Linked DNA regions of Homo sapiens: regions 1, 3 and 4 are each linked to region 2. The links are contacts of gene promoters, found by promoter capture Hi-C in blood cells and fetal thymus (Javierre and others, 2016). All regions are on one chromosome and are shown on one strand. Each heading gives the region's core, a stretch centred on a gene start or on the middle of the fragment in contact. The rest is flanking DNA. Distances are from core to core; before and after follow the strand shown.

What was found. Contacts are between HindIII fragments. The CHiCAGO score rates a contact against its expected background, and 5 or more counts as called.
Region 1: a fragment that was not itself captured here is called in contact with the fragment with the promoter of FAR2 in region 2 in 3 of 17 cell types (neutrophils, M2 macrophages and monocytes); the score reaches 6.4 in neutrophils.
Region 3: a fragment that was not itself captured here is called in contact with the fragment with the promoter of FAR2 in region 2 in 1 of 17 cell types (neutrophils); the score reaches 10.3 in neutrophils.
Region 4: a contact is called between a fragment that was not itself captured here and the fragment with the promoter of FAR2 in region 2, in 1 of 17 cell types (monocytes). The highest score is 5.3, in monocytes.

The regions. Positions count from the first base shown.
Region 1 is chr12:29,332,158-29,335,531 of GRCh38, reverse strand. It overlaps FAR2 (fatty acyl-CoA reductase 2), which reads right to left. Exons shown (of 12, transcript NM_001271783.2): 11 at 2,805-2,932; 12 at 1-1,900. The coding sequence ends at 1,738. Among named protein-coding and RNA genes, the nearest start is that of FAR2-AS1, 16 kb to the right of the region's middle. The HindIII fragment of the contact is 875 bases long and covers 920-1,794 here.
Region 2 is chr12:29,147,685-29,150,653 of GRCh38, reverse strand. FAR2 (fatty acyl-CoA reductase 2) reads right to left here and starts at 1,376. Exons shown (of 12, transcript NM_001271783.2): 1 at 1,247-1,376. RefSeq lists silencers at 1,009-1,158, 1,469-1,528. The HindIII fragment of the contact is 9,301 bases long and covers 1-2,969 here.
Region 3 is chr12:29,368,074-29,371,397 of GRCh38, reverse strand. It overlaps ERGIC2 (ERGIC and golgi 2), which reads left to right. Exons shown (of 14, transcript NM_016570.3): 3 at 1,176-1,284; 4 at 3,111-3,157. Among named protein-coding and RNA genes, the nearest start is that of ERGIC2, 11 kb to the left of the region's middle. The HindIII fragment of the contact is 7,633 bases long and covers 1-3,324 here.
Region 4 is chr12:29,351,883-29,355,219 of GRCh38, reverse strand. The region is part of intron 8 of ERGIC2 (ERGIC and golgi 2); the gene reads left to right. Among named protein-coding and RNA genes, the nearest start is that of ERGIC2, 28 kb to the left of the region's middle. The HindIII fragment of the contact is 992 bases long and covers 948-1,939 here.

The DNA.
Region 1 (3,374 bases), core at 108-2,607, 180 kb before region 2:
TCAAAAGTGAATTCTTAGAACTATTATTATGTCTTAATCCAATCCCACTGAGCTATATCTTGATTTCATATTTTTATCATGTCTATAGCTTGTATCTTAATTGATATAACTCAAAAGTACCATATAGACATCTCAAACTAAAGATCACCAGGTGCTTAGTTTCAGAGCTGGGTTGTCTGCTATGGAAAATATTTCCCAGAATTTAGATGAGATTGGGAAAGATATTGCCCAGAAGAGTTCCTCCAAAATGCCCTTTATATAGAGCTCAGGAGAATCTGGAATAATACTGGGCTAGATACTGCCCTAAGGCCTTGTACACTTAAACTACCACGATGTGCCTTTCTGAATATTACCCAATTACTCCAGGAAGTGAGCATAAATATAACTGCCATTCTTTATTAACATTTTATGCCTATGCCATTTTCAACTAGTTATGCGGTGACTAATTTTAGTTGTTTAGGCCCCAAGTACTATATTTGAATAATATTCCATGTTTTTAACATGAAGAAATGCTGCAATCCAACATGTACTCATCTCTCAAATATGAGGAAAGTTGGTGTAACAGTTACATTATTATTACTATAGGAATTGGAGAATATGTATAGTTTTCATTAGTTTGTATTATACACAAAATTTTTTAAGAAAACAAAACCTATTTTCTAAACTTAGAATCCCTTAGTGAAGTCTATTCACTTTTCTGCTGTGTGTTGTACAGTTAACATTGTGCAATTGGAATGACCAAGATACTAGTAAATCCTTTGGTGATCACATAAGTGTAATCTTCCCCACTTTATACCAGAAGACTAAAGCTACAGTTTAAAAGTTCATTTGAAGTTTTGTTTTGCTCAGTGGCAAAGATCAAATGGGACCATCCCTCTCCCTGTTGACCACTCTAATTGAGTCCTGAGTGGAAAAAGCTTAAATATAAAGGGTTTGGCAACTTTTAGAAGAAGGAGACTCTTGAAAGAAGGTTACCAGGAAAATTGAGGATTAAAAAGATTTAGAAATAATAGCTATCAAATTCGAATTTGAGAATATTAATTTTGACTTAAAAGCATAATACACGAGTCCCCAATGCAAATATGCTTAATCCCTCACTCTATACATACTTATTTACACTTCTTGTTCCTTTTTAAGAAGTGAATGTAGTTAAGAAAAATGTTAAATGTAAACCTACTTTTCTGATTCCCCCACCCCTCAACCAGGACTCCAGGGTATAACATAGAAAGAAAGAGAGACATTTTCAGTGGGGAATTACTTCTCTTACTGCATTTTTGAGGATATTGAGACCATTCTCCTTTTACTCATCTTGATTTTAAATTTTTCTTTTGGGTACCCAGAATGGTTCCAAGGTTAGTACTGCTTGAGCTCATTTCAGCTTCTGCCATGCATCTTTCCATATTTACTGAGTTTAAATGAATCATCTCAGAGAGAAAAGAAAAACTAAATATAGAAAAGTGGGAGTACTTTCACGTTTAATACGCAAGGGCATAAAATAGAATGTTAGGAAACAATTTGGATTTTTTTCCCTAAAATATAGGTGACTATGGGCTAGTTTACAACTTTCCTTCTCTCACTGAAATAAAAATACATAGTTAAGGAATAGGGACGAATACATAACAGGTGACATTTGACAGTTTGGGCATATTCCTTGTTACTTTCTAATCTTGAGAATCACAGTTTGCTGTTTTAGAGGTATCTGAGAGGTTCCAGATAAAAAGCGATGGCTAAATGCTCTTAAACTTTGAGCGTGCTGGATGCTCTAAAGTAGGAGAGGAATTTATAACAGAAGCTTACAATGAAGAACCAGACATTCCGAGCCATCTGAGATCTTGCAATGAGAAGGCGCCAGGCGATAAGGAAGAGGGCAGTATTAAAGAGGTAGTGAATATTTCGGAGCCTAGGGAACAGACAGACATAACCAAAGTTAAAACTACCAGATACCCAACCACATTATCTGAAGATAAATATGTGTTTTCCTGGATATGACTGGCAAGTATTTATGAAGTGCTCAGAGTATTTGATATAACTTGGCCAATTGGTTTCTGCGTCTTTCATTTCCACAGCATTCTTGCTGAATAGTCAGATTTCTACCATATTTCCCTAATTTCTCTTATACCTCTCTCCACTTGAAACTATTTACAAGCATGACTAGCATAATCTTGTAAATATACTTTGGTCATGTTACCACATCATAAATCTTCACTGGTTCTTGTTCATTAGAAGGTAAATTCTAAAGTTCTTGGCTTGCTATTCAAGGTTCCTCCTTCCTGTTTTGCAAGCTACTTTTTTATCCTTATCATCTCTGCACTACAGATCCTCTGCTTCTACCAGGATTATACCAGAGTGCTAGAATTCCTTGTCCCTCAGGGATTACGACTGAAAGAAATTTAAGAAAGTTGAAAAAATTGAGGAGTGACTTTTTTCTAGGTTAAATAGCATAATCAGGTCTCCTGCCTGTTGGGTATTTATATCCCATTATGACAGAGTGTGGTAGAAGAAACAAATTTGGGTTCAAATCTGGCTCTTAGACTTACTATGCAATTACCATGGGCAAGTTATTTGCTGTGTTTAAATCTAGATATCTGCCTCATAAAAATGGGGTAACAAAAGTAATACTTGCCTCATAGAGGTGTGGTGAAGTCTAAATGAAACTGTGTTACAGGGTAGAGTATGGAGTGCAGGACCTGTAATGTAGTAAATGCTCAAGAAATGTTCATTCTCCTCTGCACAAATGTTATGTCTGGTATAAAGTCGATGCACAGTAGGTGCTCAATAAATATTAACTGACTGATTATACTTACCTTTTTAAGCGTTGCTTTGCTTTTGGGATCCCAGCCATATCCTCTTTCAATAAGTATTTTTTAACTCCCAAAACATAATTTTCAATGTATTCCAACCAGTTCAACTGGCGCACGTCAAAGTTGAATACCTGAGAGGCAAGAGAGATTATAGATTGCCAGAATTGCAGTGCTGGACAGTCACTTTGTCCACTTGAGGTTTCTTCTACATAGACGAGTGACCTTCAATTTGGGAGACATAGGTTGGACCCTCTCCAAAGGAGAGATTATTTGAGTCATTATTTCAAAGGTACTGATAATATGGATTACTATTTACATAGGAATATTTAAACATGGATCAAACACAAACACTTCACATTTCTTGTGAGGGAGATTTAAAGGAAATAGTATTACATAGTCTGGTGAAAACTTATGGTTGGCTTGGTATATATTTCAGCTAACCGAGGAGTAATTATTTTTAAAAGTGATAGAATAATATGTTAGTGACCAAAACATAAATGATGCAACTTTCCCTTTCCTCTTAAATTTTGGTGTTATCCCTTTGTTCTACCATCCTTTCCTACAGCATTACCA
Region 2 (2,969 bases), core at 127-2,626:
CTGCGGAAATGCCTGCTCTTGCAGTTTAGGTGGCTGCCTTAAGTTTTTATTTAGTCCCTTGCCCCCCTTTCTAAATTTTGGACTAACTACACCTGTCAGTCAAATCTCCAGCTCTTATAAATGGGAATATACAGAGATGGGTAATTGAAACCACGGGGTAATTCTCAAATTTCCATTTGCCCAGTGTCAAATTTCTCTCAACCTAGCAAACAGAAAAGCACGATCTACCTGAATTCCCTGGTCACTTTTCTGACCCTACTCTGTCCTTGCTCATCACATAATGGGGGCACTTTACGTGATTCAACGAGTGGCCAAACTCTTGCAGATCCAGCGATAACCTTGGTTGCTCACACCACATAACTCAACCGTGGAAGAAATGGTGCCACCGCTGGCAGGTGAGACGCCTTCCTCTGGTTTGTAGGATACGATTGGGCATGAATTGTTTTAATAGACTGAGACTGCCCCGCGGGTAATTCTACTTGCTAGGAGTGTTGAGCAGCCTTCCTGCAAGCCATCTACTCCAGTTGGGAGTCTGCTGGCACCTGCTCCCCTGCACACCCCCAGGATGCCCAGGCCGCAGGAAGATGTCTAAAACTTCCTACAGGGGCAAAGCCCGCCCTGGCCTCACCAGTCGCCCCAGCGCGCGTCAGCCACGACCCCGGCGAGGCCCAGGTGGGAGGGTAGGGACGTGCGCAGCCTGGGGTGGGGCTGGGGGCTGGCGAGGACCTGCTCCGGGGACCAGGACTGGGCGCCCTGGCGGTCCCAGGCACCGGGAGGGGACCTAGGACCGCTGCCGTTTCACACGTGGCCCCGGCATTTTCGCGCTCTCTCCAGGAATAGCCCCAAGGGCCCAGGAGGCCTGGGTGGGACTCGGCCCCGCGCCTCTCTTCCCGGGTCCCCAGTCCCCAAGGCGCGGCCCCCCACATTAACCTTGCTGGGTCCTTCCCGGCTTTCTGCCCTTTGCAACCCCCGCGCGCCCCACCTTGGCGGGCTCCGCCGACGCCAACCGCGCGTAAACGGCCGGTGACGATTGGGGTGCAGCCGGGGGCAGCTTCAGGGGGCAGAGCCTCCGCAAATGCTTCTCTCCTCCCACCCGGCCTCACACCCACCCTCCTCGAGGTCCCGCCGGGAACCGCCCCGCCCTGCGAACCCAGCCGAGCCCTCCCTCCTGGGCCACCCCCAGTCCGGTCTCTGCTTTTGGAGCGCGTGGGCTCTGCGAGCGCCAGGGCTGGGGACCCTGGAATACCTGTTCCTCCAGCACGAGGATGGGGTCCAACTAGTGGTCCTCTAAATCCTGCTCCTTCCCCGAGGCTACGGGAAGCGCTCCAGCCACAAGGAAACGGCTCCAGTCTTTCGGCTCCCAAACGTGACACTCTATATATCCGGCTCGGAGACTGGGTGTGGGGCGGGAGGAAACCACCCTCCCTCCGACCTTCCCCGGCTCCGCCGCTGCCTCGGCACTGGGCGCGAAACCGGCGGCAGCCTCAGCCCGGGGCGGGAGGAGGGTGAGGGGCCAGCGAAGGCCCTACAGGTCGCGGGGGCGACAGCATCGTGGGCAGGGCGGCCGCGCGCGCAGGCCCGCCCCGCGCTTCCATTCGTTCAGCACCAGCGGATCCACTGGCTATGACTCCCGCATTTGTGTGGTTTGGGGGAGGGGAGTTGGTTTTGGTTTCGGTGGGTTTGGTTTGTTTGTTTGTTTGGGGCTTTTGTTTTGTTTTGTTTTGGGTTTTGGGGTTGGTTTTTTTCTCCATTTTTTAATCAGTGGGCGAGGGGACAAGGAAGCTAGAAAGGCGCCCCTCTCTGGTGTGGGAAAGGAGAACTCCCACACCGTGAAAGGTGGCGGGGTAGGGGGGTGGAGGGAGAGACCGAGACAGGAGAGAGATTCAAAGGTTCTAGTCTGAACTGAACGCTTGGGGGACATACCTTTCCCCACCCACCCTAGCAGAAAAGGCAGCCAAAAATCCCAGTTTACTCAGCTTGACTACACTGCACATCCCGTGGGAGGGATGCTCTTGTATCTGCTAAAGACATTGCGGAGGCGCCCTGCAGTGACCCACGAACGCAGTGGCTTTTTAAAACCCAAGGGCGTGAGGGTGGAGGGTGATGCGAGGACTTCAGGTGAGGCTTCCTCACACTCGGGGTTTGAAGGGCAGAAATCCGGCTCTGCCTGCCTATGGTGGGGTGGGGGTGGGTAGGAGACTAGAAAGGATCAGAGATGGGGGCCGCAGAAACAGCAGTGAGCCAGCTGTGCTCAGCAGCACTTCTCCGGACTTAAAAGAAAAAAAGATGTTTCATTTCTTAGCCTGGTAGCTTTTTTGGGATTTGGTCATTGTTAAATTTTAAACGGAAAAACAAGCTGCCAGGGAAGCCTTGTAGAGGGATGGACAGGCACGTGAGTGGAGCCCTTGGCCTCAACCAGGAAGTGCTGAAAAACGGCCAACGCCCATCCTAATTCCCTGGACAATGTAGGAGGTAAATTTCCAAATAAATATGGTGTGTTAAGAAAAATAGAAAAGAAATATTGTCCTATAAGCTGTTCTGATTCTCCTCATTATAACAATCCACATGCAATTAAAGAAATAAAATTTGACTTTTGAAAGTTAGAATTAAGGAGTGATTTCATGAAATTAAAATAATAACACCCATCTTGAATTCTCTACTACTGGGCTCTTTAATGAAATGTGTTAAGCTAAGTGTAGCCTAAAGGCACTGACTAATTTCCTCTGGTGACCGCCTGAATGCAAGAGACAGAAAAAAAGTTACAACCAAATTTATAGTATTTTTCGTTACCCCTCCCCTCCTCAAGAATAAATTTGAATGTATCTTCAAAATGTGTGTGACAGCACTTCAAATGATAATGTCAAATGCTGGTGAAAACGTATAGAAATCACTTAACAGATAGCAGATGGAAGGTAAATTGTAATCACGCTTTTGTTGGAAAGCAATTTAGCAACACATTCCCAAGGTGT
Region 3 (3,324 bases), core at 107-2,606, 220 kb before region 2:
GTCTTCATGCCACTCTGTTGGCTGTAATTCTTATTAATATTCTCTATAGCCTCCAACACAGTGCCATCTGTGCCTTTGGCAGTGTTTATTAAAACATTAATACATTAAACCAATGTTTCTGCTTTGCTGCCCTTTCCTAAATATGTGACCTTGAGGAAGTTATTCAAATCTATCTGTCTTAGTTTCTTCCATGAAATAGGGATCATACTAGTATTTACCTCCTAGGGGTTACTATACTATTAATATTTTCATAAAATGCTTAGACCCAGTGCCTGGTACAGATAAAAGTATCAGTTAAGTAAAATAAATAATGAAATATATAAGAAAAATGTGTGACTATAACAATATTCAGTATAATTTCTTTCCCTATGAAAAGGTAGTAAAATAATGTATTTCACTTAAGGTTGACATTTTATTTGGTAAAATGGGTAATAAGTTGCTTACTATTTCTGATCCACTTGTGATTAAGTTTTGTTAATGAAAATAGTGCAAGTTCTTGCAAAATCTATTTTAAGTATTTTGCTTTAGTATATAATAGATTTTCTTTTTGTCAGATCTTTTACTCAGTTCTGTGAATGAGGTGATATATTTAGGAGATTGCCAAGTAGAGGAGAGTTTTGTTAGCTATTTAGAGATGTTATTTGAGTTTCTGGCACACAGATTATTGTGGTTTCTCAGGATCTAAGAAATTAGGCTACCTTTTTGTTTGTTTTAAATTGGGCTTATAGCCCAATTTATATACATTTATATACAAATTATATTTATAGACATGGATGCATTTTTAATAATGAAGCAACTGTTTTCAAATTTGTGCTATAAGGCATGCTTACTTTCATCATTTATCCTATCTGTGACACTGTTTTATATAAGAAATACAAATTTTGTCAACTCTACTTAGTGAGAGATGCCCTTAAAATTGGAGAAATAAAATGCTTTCTTAGTAATGCAAGTGTTTATGTTCATATTTGTATATATTAAACCTTAACTTTTGAGCTGTATTAGAAAAAATGCATAATAAACATTTTGAATAAAAACCTTCTATAGTATGCATTCAAATGGAAGTTACATTATTAGGCTTTTTCTTTTGAAAATTTAATCTCACTTAAATTAGTTTCCTATTCTTTGCTTTTTTTATTGTTTTAATTCTGTTTTTCTTTTGTTGTTGGATTTCCCAGTTTCTCTAATAGCATTTACAACTATGGCTTTATTAACCATAATGGAATTCTCAGTATATCAAGATACATGGATGAAGTATGAATACGAAGTAGACAAGGATTTTTCTAGGTAATCATTTTTTTTCTTCTTGGAATACCTTTAGATTCAAATTGTTTTAAAAAGAGCATACCTTTTAAAAAAGAAAAAGTCTAACCTTCTAGATTTGGTTTGTTTTAGTTCTGAAGAAATAGTCCTGAAAAATTCTCATTAATTGCATGCATTAAGTGAAACCTTTTAGAATCATTTAAATAGTGGTTGAATTCTAAAACTGAGGTTCTTTGATTTAGCATGCTTTGTTTCAAAAAGTTAGGGGAATATTTTTCCTTAGATATGTATATTGTGGAAATTGTTTAATATTTGAAACTGGTTGAAATACCTCACTGATCTGTGTGAGCTGGAAAATAAGTTGTCTAAGGATACATTGTATACCCTTATGACTTGATGTCTATAAATTATACCTAAGCTAAATCTTTATGTAAATAAGATTACTTTTAAACTTTTGAAAATATAGTACCTTAATTATACACTTTACATCTATTCGTTTGTATTATTTGGATTTCTTCAATGGAATGAAGATAATAGGTTTATAATATTAAGATTGCACCAAATAGGAAGACACATTTAGTTTTCAATTACAATCCAGGTTTGCCATTTACATAATTTTAGGGAATTTACTAAATCTGCACCTGTATATGCTTCAGTTTCCTTTTTTGTAAAGTACAGACAGCAATTATAGTATCTTCCTCAAGAGGTTTATGAGAATTAAATTAGTCAACATTTGTAAATTGCTGTGTAACCTTGGGCAGGTCACACCACTGACTTCTTTTGGACTTCAGTTTCTTCATCTCTAATGTACTATTCAGGATAGTATTGGTTTTCAAAGAATTTGTTGTTGTTTTCAGCACCAATGCAATACTTCATTTTTTTCCAAATGAAGTCTTATGTATTACATAGTTCGCCACATAAGCATGGTGAGGATATGCAGAAGTTTGTCTACTTGGCCTACTCCTGGTTCCTATCTCCTGAGCCTAAACTCCTGGGTTATTTGGAACACAGTTTGAACTCTAGATGACTTTAAGACTTCATGAAGGTCTAAAAATCTGTAATTCCTATTTTAAATCAGATGAAAATTATTACACAGAAAAAAGTTATCATAGAAAGCACAGGACTGAATTTGATCATAGCCAGTCTATTATTCGCAATGCTTCATTCTGGTATTCGAAAATTGCTTTGATCTAATCATTTGAAAATGAAAGGCCATGAAAAATTTTAAGCATCAGGTGATTTACTTTTGGTAGTTTGGTTGCATTTATCCTGAGTTACATAGACCTAGTTTCCAGTATGCCACTTTAATGGTGATGTGATCTTAAGCCAGGTATTTACACTACCGTGAACACCAGTGGTTTACTTGAAAATCTGTGAAGCCATCCATTTATAGCTCCATGATATAGAATAAAGGAGATAATATTTGTAGAACATCTAGCATCATGCTTAATATATGGTGTTTGATAAACAGAGAAGAAAGACAATTCCTAATTCTTGATTTTGAGAGTTTTACATTCTTAAAAGAACATTCTATCAAAAGTTTATGTAAATAGAGATTAAGAGGTTAAGACTTTTTCTGAGTTGCTTAGAGTTATTGATTATAGAGTTGCCATTATTAAAGGATACTGTGTTCAAAAACCTGTGAAGTCAGAAAGGCTTTTGGAATAAGGGCAAAATAGAACTTGTAATTTAAAGAGCCTTTGTTTTGGCCATGAGAAATGCAATTCAAGTTCTAATCGACATAATTTATTCTGCTTGAAATCCAAGTTTTTAATAGGTCAGTTGATTTATATTTCTCATGTTTTGCTAATTAATTGGTAGGTACTAATGTTTAATATTTTGTCTTTCAGCAAATTAAGAATTAATATAGATATTACTGTTGCCATGAAGTGTCAATGTAAGTACACCTTCAACTTGCTGAATCCACATGTAGGTTATGGTTCAAACAATTGCCAAGCAAAAATAAAAATCACTGGTTGTACTTTATTTTTCCTTTATAATATTTTAAAGTTTTACTGTGGTATTATTTAATAATACAAATTGTTTTACTCCTCAGCTTATATT
Region 4 (3,337 bases), core at 194-2,693, 200 kb before region 2:
GCTGATAAGAGACTATTTAACAAGGTATTAAATGTACGCTGCAAGTCAGTGGAGACTTTATTGAGGAAGACCTTTGAACACTAGGAGAAGAGGAGGAATTTAATATATAAAGGAGGGAAGGGCATACAGCAGGAAAGAGCATGGCTGGAAGTTTATAAAATACATATAGAGATAACATTAGATTTCTATGAAAAAGTATTTCAGTATTTACAATACTCAGATCAAACATTTGTTTTTTTCCTCATTATCTCTTGAAATTTATGTTTTGTTGTTTTGTTACCATTACCCATCTCCAACCCAACCTGTTGCTGGGAACCTTGGAATGTCTTGAAATCTTAGCTTAAAGAAATTTAGCAGATTTTATTGCACCTTTGGATACAAACAATATTCTAGTCCACAACCAACTCAAAGAGGGAAATTTTGACAAATATTATAATCAGACTCTATATTATGTCCCTTTTTAAAATTTGTTTTTGGTCTTTTCACAATTTCACTTTCCTTCCCAGGTGGTAACTCACACTATCAGAGAGGCCAAATAGAAAAGCATTTGGTTCATATCTTGTCATCTCAGGGATATCCTGTAAACCCACTCCTAATTTTTAGTGTTACATTTGTCAAGTTCAATATTGATCTTTTTGAAGGTCTCATATTACCTCTCAGACACAATGTCAGTCTCAACTGTAATTTAAAAGAGTAATAAAAGGAACATAATTTGTAACACAATATGTATTTCAATATGCTTGAGCGTGAATACACTAGAAGACATAATGAAGTAGGCAGATGCTTGCCACTTATATGTAGAATTTTTAAGTGTATAATTGCTACAAATGCAGACTGAAACAGATGTATTGGCTACTCAGATATCATGAGTGACATTTCCGTTGATGAGATGATATTCAGAAATAGGAATACCTCTTTGTAATATTAAACAAAACAGAATATAAGCTTCCCTTAGTTTTCTGGGAAATTTAGTGTATATTAAAACTACAACTTTATATAGCTAAATGGGGTTCAGTTCTAGACTCAGATTATTATAATAGGCTTTTCATGTACATGAGTATCTCTTAGAACATTTGAAAGTCAGGCAAATCCTGGAATGATTCTTTTTTGTGTGAGACTGTCAATTTCATTGCAGGATGCCTTGTTTCTGTGGCTGTTGTCCAGTAAATCCCAATAGCAACCCCTTCCCAATAATTCTGACAACTCAAAATGCCTCTCTTCACCCCCCACCAATTTTCAGAACAACTTTTCCTCCACTGAAAGTCATTCAGGCTAGATTCTTGTCTGATAGGGTAGAAAATATCCCAGAAAAGAAACAGGTAAATTCTGAATATCCATCCTCCCTATGCAGAGTTTTAACAAGTGTCAGATAACTACAGTCATCTGTACTAGGGTGATTTAATTTGATTTTTAAATTTAATTTTTTGAAGAAGATGCTCACTTATGCTGTTACTTCATAAAATGAATACACCTGTTAACAAAAAAAAAAAGAAGGAAATATTATTTAAAACAGCTCTCTGTTCCTCTCAGAGTAAAATCCTGGGTGGTGAGAGAGATCATTGAAGTAAAATGTATAGGTTGAGCATCCCTTATCTGAAAATCTGAAATTCAAAATGCTCCAAATTTGGAGCATTCAAAATACTCCAAATTTGAGCATTGTCAACACGATGCTCAAAGGAAATGCTTAAGAGTGTTTCAGATTTCAGGTTAGGGAGGCCTCCCTGGCAAATAAAATGTACATATTCTAAAATCTAAAATTTGAAACTTCTGATCCCAAGCATTTTGGATAAGGGATATTCAACGTGTAGTATTGTAATTTGGTTATTCAGAAAAACTTTGTTGTTTGTTTGAAAATAATAGTAGGAACACTGTTAGACTGACAATATGATTGGAGCTAGTAATAATTTATGACAGTAGACTTTCTTTTTAGTAGTAAGCTTGAGGTAATACACTTGACTGTGAACACAGAAGAATTTACGAGACCAAACTACCAATCATTCCAGTGCATCAGGAAATGCTTTATTGAGCAAGGTTTTAGTATACTTTATGTTGAATGTCAGTTAATACATTTCCCTAATCATTGTATTGCCTTTTTTAAAGTGCCTGGTGTTTTGCTAGGTAACACATAGAACAAATTAAACAATGTTTAGACCTACTAGGGCATATTCTGAAACTTGACAATGGTAACAGACAGTTAATTGGTTATAAAGAAAGAAGGCTCCTTTATGGAGAGTTTCTATTTTCAGTTTTTTAGTTAATTGCTAGAATTAGTAACTGGGTAAAGCAGGATTGTGATAAAGGAGATCTTCAAGGTGATTTTTTAATTTTTTTTAACCAGGAACAGGGAAGGATAGTACTTATTTGTAGAAGTGTAAAGGTGCTAAAAGAACAGGTTAAATTTGAAAGATAACAGTGTATAACAGAACAAAGGTTTACTGCAGTGGTAGGCAAACTACAGTTTATATACCAAATCCAGCCTACTACCTGTTTTTGTATGGTTCATGAGCTAAGAAGGGCTTTTAAATTTTGTTTATTTATTTGTTTGTTTATTTTTTTGAGACAGAGTCTCGCTCTGTTGCTCATGCTGGAGTACAGTGACGTGATCTGGGCTCACTGCAATCTCTGCCTCCCAGGTTCAAGTGATTCTCCTGCCTCAGCCTCCTGAGTAGCTGGGATTACAGGTAGCCCACCACCACGCCCGGCTAATTTTTGTATTTTTAGTAGAGACAGGGTTTCACCATGTTGGCCAGGCTGGTCTCGAACTCCTGACCTCAGGTGATCCACTCACCTTGGCCTCCCAAAGTGCTAGGATTACAGGTGTGAGCCACCTTGCCCAGACATGGTTTTTACATTTTTAAATATTTGAAAATAAATCAGAAGGGGAGTAATATAATACATGAGAAATATATGAAATTTAAATTCGTGTCCAAAAATAAAGTTTTATTGGCATATAGCCATGCTCATTTGTTTATATATGGCTGCTTTTGTATTACAGTACCACAGTTGAGTAATTATGGCAGAGACCATATATGACTCTCTCATTACTTTGTACTTTGGTGTACTATGAATTGTAGTGATGCAGTTATAATTTGACAGCATTAAAAGTGCTGTGTGTATTCCTGTCCTGCAACATTTTATTTATTTATTGTATTACTATGTTAAAAAAAAGAAATATGGACTTCAAATGTTGCATTTTTAAAGCACAGTGTACCATGGATTATTTGATCAAATTTGGCTGCAGAACATCCTGCGTATTAAGCAATGACACTATTTAATTGTGCTAAAAAGAATACAGTATCTGTTGATGGTGCCAGATTGAGCATTCATCACAATATTA